2 separate regions of the Homo sapiens genome follow, and region 2 is linked to region 1. Evidence: promoter capture Hi-C in 16 types of primary human blood cells and fetal thymus (Javierre and others, 2016). All regions are on one chromosome and are shown on one strand. The core of a region is centred on a gene start or on the middle of the fragment in contact, and the rest is flanking DNA. Distances in the headings are between cores, read along the strand shown. Region 1 holds the start of SNX10 (sorting nexin 10). Region 2 overlaps LOC105375199 (a long non-coding RNA gene).

The links. The method cuts DNA at HindIII sites, captures the fragments that hold promoters and counts their contacts. A CHiCAGO score of 5 or more calls a contact.
Region 2: a contact is called between a fragment that was not itself captured here and the fragment with the promoter of SNX10 in region 1, in 1 of 17 cell types (activated CD4 T cells). The highest score is 6.6, in activated CD4 T cells.

What each region holds. Positions count from the first base shown.
Region 1 is chr7:26,290,494-26,293,526 of GRCh38, reverse strand. SNX10 (sorting nexin 10) reads right to left here and starts at 1,665. Exons shown (of 7, transcript NM_013322.3): 1 at 1,441-1,665. RefSeq lists silencers at 1,172-1,251, 1,402-1,641. The HindIII fragment of the contact is 4,940 bases long and covers 1-1,836 here.
Region 2 is chr7:26,110,321-26,113,353 of GRCh38, reverse strand. All of the region lies in intron 1 of LOC105375199 (a long non-coding RNA gene), which reads left to right. The region is part of intron 1 of LOC105375198 (a long non-coding RNA gene); the gene reads right to left. Among named protein-coding and RNA genes, the nearest start is that of NFE2L3, 40 kb to the left of the region's middle. The HindIII fragment of the contact is 766 bases long and covers 1,156-1,921 here.

The DNA of each region.
Region 1 (3,033 bases), core at 416-2,915:
CTTTAAAAAATAGTAATAAAAGGCCGAGCGCAGTGGCTCACCCCTGTAATCCTAGCACTTTGGGAGGCCGAGGCAGGTGGATTGCTTGAGCTCAGGACTTCCAGACCTGCCTGGGGCAACATGGCAAAACCCTGTCTCTACAAAAAAAATACCGAAGTTAGCCAGGGGTGTGGTGGCCCGCACCTGTGGTCTCAGCTACTAGGGAGGCTGAGGTGGGAGGATCACTGAAGCCTGGGAGGTGGAGTTTGCAGTGAGCCAAGATCGCACCACTGCAATCCAGCCTGGGTGACAGAATAATACCTTGTCTCAAAAGAAAAAGAAAAAAGTAAATAATATTAAGAATAATGAAGGTCCAGCTATGTACCTACCTTAGGAATAGGCATCACTGGAAGTGATGGCAGAGGCAAGGCAGGAGTCCCTGACCTCACCTCCATTCTCTCACTGAGGAGCCCCTGCAGAAGCTGGTCAACTATCCAAGCAGTCCCTGCTTCTTCCTGGCGAAGGCCTCAGCCTCCAGCCCAGCCCCCTCCTGGGAGAGGAGGGGGAGCTTATGCAATCCAAACCCAGTTCCCAGGCCCCAGAGGTGGACATAACTCCGGGGTGGAAGTCAGAAGCCTGCCAGGTTGTAGGCCTGGTTCTGCTCCCATCTGGCTGAATGATCCTGGTCCCAACACTCAGCGTCCCTCGGCCTTAGCCTCCCTGTCTGTAAAATGAAAGGTTTGATGGAGATCATGTGCAAGCCTCCTCCCCGTTCTAATTTTCTGATACCATCATTTTTAACGTGTCTTGTAGAGATAGAAGCCCTTCCTTTCAGCAGGACATGTTGCTCCCCATTCCGTGACGATCCCCCTCAATAATCCGTGTAATTTGAGAAAAGTATGATGCATCGGAACTGAAAAACAGGCTGTTGCTTTCCTGGTCACCAAATCTGATAATCAGTCAATTATATGGATTTTCCCCTGGGCCTTCTCCCTCAATCCCACAATCCCACGAATAAACCTGCCTACCCCTCCCAATTCCTCAACTCAAGGCTACCCGTTAATGAATGAATAAAAAAATAAATAAATAAATTTTAAAAACCACCTCCCCACCCCCTTCTACCCGGCCTGGTGTAAGGTGCCACAGCACTTCTTCCGTAATCTAGAATCCACCTCTGCCCCACCCTCTCCCCGGGGTGTCTTTTTAGCCAAGAATCCCTGGATCGACGCGCTCCATCTCCCCGCTCTACCGCGCTGATCATTTCTCCCTGCCCGGCACACCTCGGCTGAAAAGGAGGCGGCTCCTCTGCTCCAAGCCCAAGGGACCCAAACCTCTTTCCAGCCCGCAAGGGTGCGGGCACCTGGGAACAGCGGGAAGGGCCCGCGCCTCTGGAAAGAAGGGCCGCCGTCCCCACCTGGGCGGTGCAGGGGAGGCCCCCTCAGCGGGTCTCTTGTCACTTACGGGCGGCTCCTCCGGGCAGAACAGAGCAGGGCCGGGCCGAGCCGGGCTTGCGGGCCGCGGAGTTTGCTGACTCAAAGGCGCGCGGCGGCAGCGGCGGCGGCGAGCGCCCAGGAGCGCACACGAGCGCAGCCCCGCGCTCCCCGCGCTCCCCGCGCTCCCCGCGCACGTAGCGGCCCCGCGCCCGCGCTCAGCGCCAGCCGTCCGCCTGTGGGCGCCGCGCCTAGTGCTTCCGCCGCCTCCGCGCAGCCCAGCCCAGGTGCGCCCCCACCCTGCAGAGCTAGCCTCCTGCTTCCTGAAATTGAGTTAGGGAGGAAATGCCCCCATTAGTCCGGACGTTGAGGCTGGAGGTGCTCCAGCGGCACCCTTCGGAATTCGCCACCTGAGTCACCTTAAGCTTCCTAACCCTGACCCCACAGTTATGGGGAGGATTGCCGATGGGGAGGAGGACGGATAAATAACGTGATAAACAAGAATGGCAGAATGTTCATAGCATCTAGGTGGTGGGCTATGGTGTTTATATAAAATTATTTCAGTTTTTGTCTATGTTTGAAATGTCTCAATAAAACATTTGGGGGGAAAGCTAATGAGATCTGCCAAGGGACCTGACTGAGGAAAGCATTTCCCAAATGGCACCTGAGGCTGGGTCCCCACACCTGTTTGCATGGGAAACCACAATCATCACTTAAACTGCTAATAAGTGACTGAATGACACAGAATAATAAGCATAGCCTAATATTTCATTTTTCAAGCATGAATTTTCCCATTAGATACAGCTTGTCGCTGATCATCCTCCAGGGACCATTCCAGGCCCACCTGAAAACGCATCTGTTCACCACACCTACATTAACTCCCTAACAAAACGTATAAATATACAATGTTGTGTCTTAACATCTTGGATCTTGAAGTTGTATTGCTGAACCCTCAATCACTGGTATTTAATTTCCTAAAATTGCACCCAAGTCATGACACACAAGTGAATGCAACCATGATCACTTTTGAAAATCAAATTAAGCTGGTGTGGTGGCTCACGCTTGTAATCCCAGCACTCTGGGAGGCCGAGGCGGGTGGATTACAAGGTCAGGAGATGGAGACCATCCTGGCTGACATGGTGAAATGCCGTCTCTACTAAAAATACAAAAACTTAGCTGGGCGTGGTGGCGCGCGCCTGTAATCCCAGCTACTCGGGAGGCTGAGGCAGGAGAATAGCTTGAACCCGGGAGGCAGAGGTTGCAGTGAGCCGAGATCATGCCATTGCACTCCAGCCTGGGCGACAGAGCAAGATTCTGTCTCAAAAAAAAAAGAAAGAAAATCAAATTAAAGTGTATTTTTTATATTCTTGTCCCTATGCTCCGCAAAGAAAAACATTGAGTAGAAAACAAAATGCAGCATGTATCTAAGATCCTAAGAGATTCTGTAAAATTAAAATCTTTCTGAACTTATTGTCAAGAGCATGACTTTACAGCTGTAGACAAAGCAGCAACAAACCCTTGGAGAGTCTACTGAAAGTCATTTGAATATCTGTTAGAATTTTGACCCTATTAAGACTGGTAACTTGGGCCGGGCGCGGTGGCTCACGCCTGTAATCCCAGCACT
Region 2 (3,033 bases), core at 289-2,788, 180 kb after region 1:
ATGTTATCAAATGCCTTTTTGGAATCTATATAAATTATTCTATTAAAAATCATTTATGACATTAATTTAAGACTGTTCAGGAAATCTAGGACTTTCGATTGCCTTGAATCTGTCAAAAAATGTTATGGTTACAACATTATTTTTAATATGAAAAACCCTAGAAACTATGAAAATATCTCACACTAGGGAAATGGTTATAGCACTTTCATGTAGTGAAAAACTATGCAGCTCTTACAAAAAATAATGAAGTAGATTATCTATGCCAAGATGAATCAATCTGAGACCTGAGGTCAAATAAAAATGGCAAGTGCAATACAGTGTGTGTTCTTATTTGTGTAAACAAAAAGGGACATCACATGTAAATATACATATATATACAAAGAAAAATTCCAGAAGGATAGAGGTCAAGATCTGAGACAATATACTGTGTCTGGATTTAAAAAAATCTTGTGCATTTATTCCTTTTGCCAATGAAAAAAAGAACAGCAAAAAAAGTAACATAATCATTATGTGGGTGCGGTGGCTCACACCCATAATCCCAGCACTTTGGGAGGCCGAGGCAAGAAGATTGCTTGAGCCCAGGAGTTCGAGACTAGCCCGGGCAACATGGCAAAACCTGATCTCCACCCAAAATACAAAGATTAGCTGGGCATGGTGGTGTGAGCCTGTAATACCAGCTACTCAGGAGGCTGAGGTAGGAAGATCACATGAGTCTGGGAGGTTGAGGCCGCAGTGAGCTGCGATCAGATTTGGTGACTGAATGAGACCCTGCCTCAAAAAAAAAAAAAAAAAAGTAATGATTAAAGTTTTTTTTTGTTGTTGTTCATGTTAAAAGTTTGTACACCAGTAACCAAAAGGGGAAAAACAAGCAATATTCAACACAACTAATTATGGGTAAAATTTTCGTTCTTTGATGTGGCTTTCTTGTTTTGTTTTTCATTTTGTCCCTGAGGTGGCAGCCTCATCCTTTCATGCTAGTGCTGGCTCTATGATGAACCACCAGATTCTGAAATTTTCCCCCTACTTTTCTGTAGTAGGAGCTTATCCCAGCTGAGCTGGCCTCACTCTTGCATCCGAAGGAGTCACGTAGAGCTTTCAGAGCAATTGTTCTCCGAATAGAGTTCCCAACTCAAAACTTAATAGCAAATGGAAGCTTCTTTGGTCTTGTGCTGATAAAGACTCTTTCAGCCTGGATGAACAATAGGGAAATGATTTACTAAATTAGGGCCAACAATACGCTGATATACCCTTTGTAAAAAATTGTGATTATGAAACTTATAGGAGAAAATACCTGCCATAATCATAAATGAAAGCAGCAGATGAACAGATCACATATACATCATGAATCTAATTTTGCAGAAACAAAAGGGGGACATATTGATCAGCCAGCTTTTAGAGTGATTTGGTAAATTGGGTATTTGGGTTTTTCCCAAACATTATCTTAATTTTGGCATTACATGAATGTATTGTATTAAAAAGTTAAAAAGGAAGCAGTAAAAATTGTGAGATCCTAATATGAAAAAAGAAAATATGTTTTCTTGTTTCCCTTTAATGTCCTGATATGAAGAAGGGAAGTGCCCAGGCTCAAGGTCACGCATAGCTAAGAAAATCAAGACAGAATCATAGTGCAGAAATGACTCTTTGATTGCACTTCTGGGCACACAAATGGGGATTCTGCCGTGGCAAGGTTGGGCACAACTATGAGTATAAAATCCCATTATGGATGGATTCCACTTGGAACTTCCTAATGGACGGTGGCCACCATGGTTTGAGTTTATATCAGCGTGACTGGCCCTGCTGCTCATTCATCATTTACAAGTGCTCTGCCTCACCGTGTCTTGATACAAGGCCCAATTATTCTCTAGGTTGATATAAATTATTTGTTATTGGGGGACAATGGTTTAGCAACTTAGGGAAAGCTTTAGAAAATTCTCCTTGAATGTCCAGAGAGCTTGGACTCTGGGAAATCTGATTGGTGACCATTGTTGGGAGTAGATTTGCCTCCTTTCATTCCCTTACACATTTTATCTCTCAGCTAATATGGTAACCAGCACTGCTCTCTGCTCATTAATTGCCAGGCATATCAGGTAAGGCCCAGTCTTCCTCAATTTCTTTCTTCCTATTCTAAAATAAATAATGCCCAGGGGTTATTCTATTTCTGCCTCTTTCCAGGTGTGACTTTGTCTACGTAGGTAGATATAGCACTATCATCCGTTTGGCTAGTGCTAAACCACTCTGCTGCTTTGCTGACTGCTGCAGAAGCCTTGCCTCGACTAGAATACATCCTCTTGTCTCACCTGTACAGTGTCCTTTGGGAAAAGTGGGTCTTCATAAGATGACACTTGAAACCTTCCTACTTTGGTCAGTTCAGAGAATGACTAGATGGGGAGAGAAGTCACCAACTCTGAGGTTTTGTGAATTAGCAGCTGAGAGATTACTTATATTGCAGGGAAAAGTAAAACCATGAAGGTTGAATTGGAAAAAGAGCAGAACTTTGGGAAAATGTGATATGTAGGGACATTTTTTGCAACCAACTTTTAGTCACATAATCAACCTTCAGCAAAAAGCTGAGACTAGCAATGAAAGGCATCAATGGAGAAATTCCAGGAAATGATTGGCAAGGAAAAATCTCAGTAAAAGCAGTAAAGAGCACTTGTCTGAAATTTGAAAAATCTGAATTTTCTTTTTTTTTTTCCCTCGGGAGAAAGGGATTATAAAATTAAACCAGTTAGGCAGGGGCTCGGTGGCTCATGCCTGTAATCCCAGCACTTTGGGAGGCCGAGGTGGGCAGATCACATGAGGTCAGGAGTTCGAGACCAGCCTGACCAACATAGAGAAACCCTGTCTACACTAAAAATACAAAAATTAGCCAGGCATGGTGGTATGTGCCTGTATAGTCCCAGCTATTTGGGAGGCTGAGGCACGAGAATGGCTTGAACCCAGGAGATGGAGGTTGCAGTGACCCAAGATTGTACCACTGCACTCCAGCCTGGGAGACAGAGCTGACTCTGTCTCCAAAAAAAAAAAAAAAAA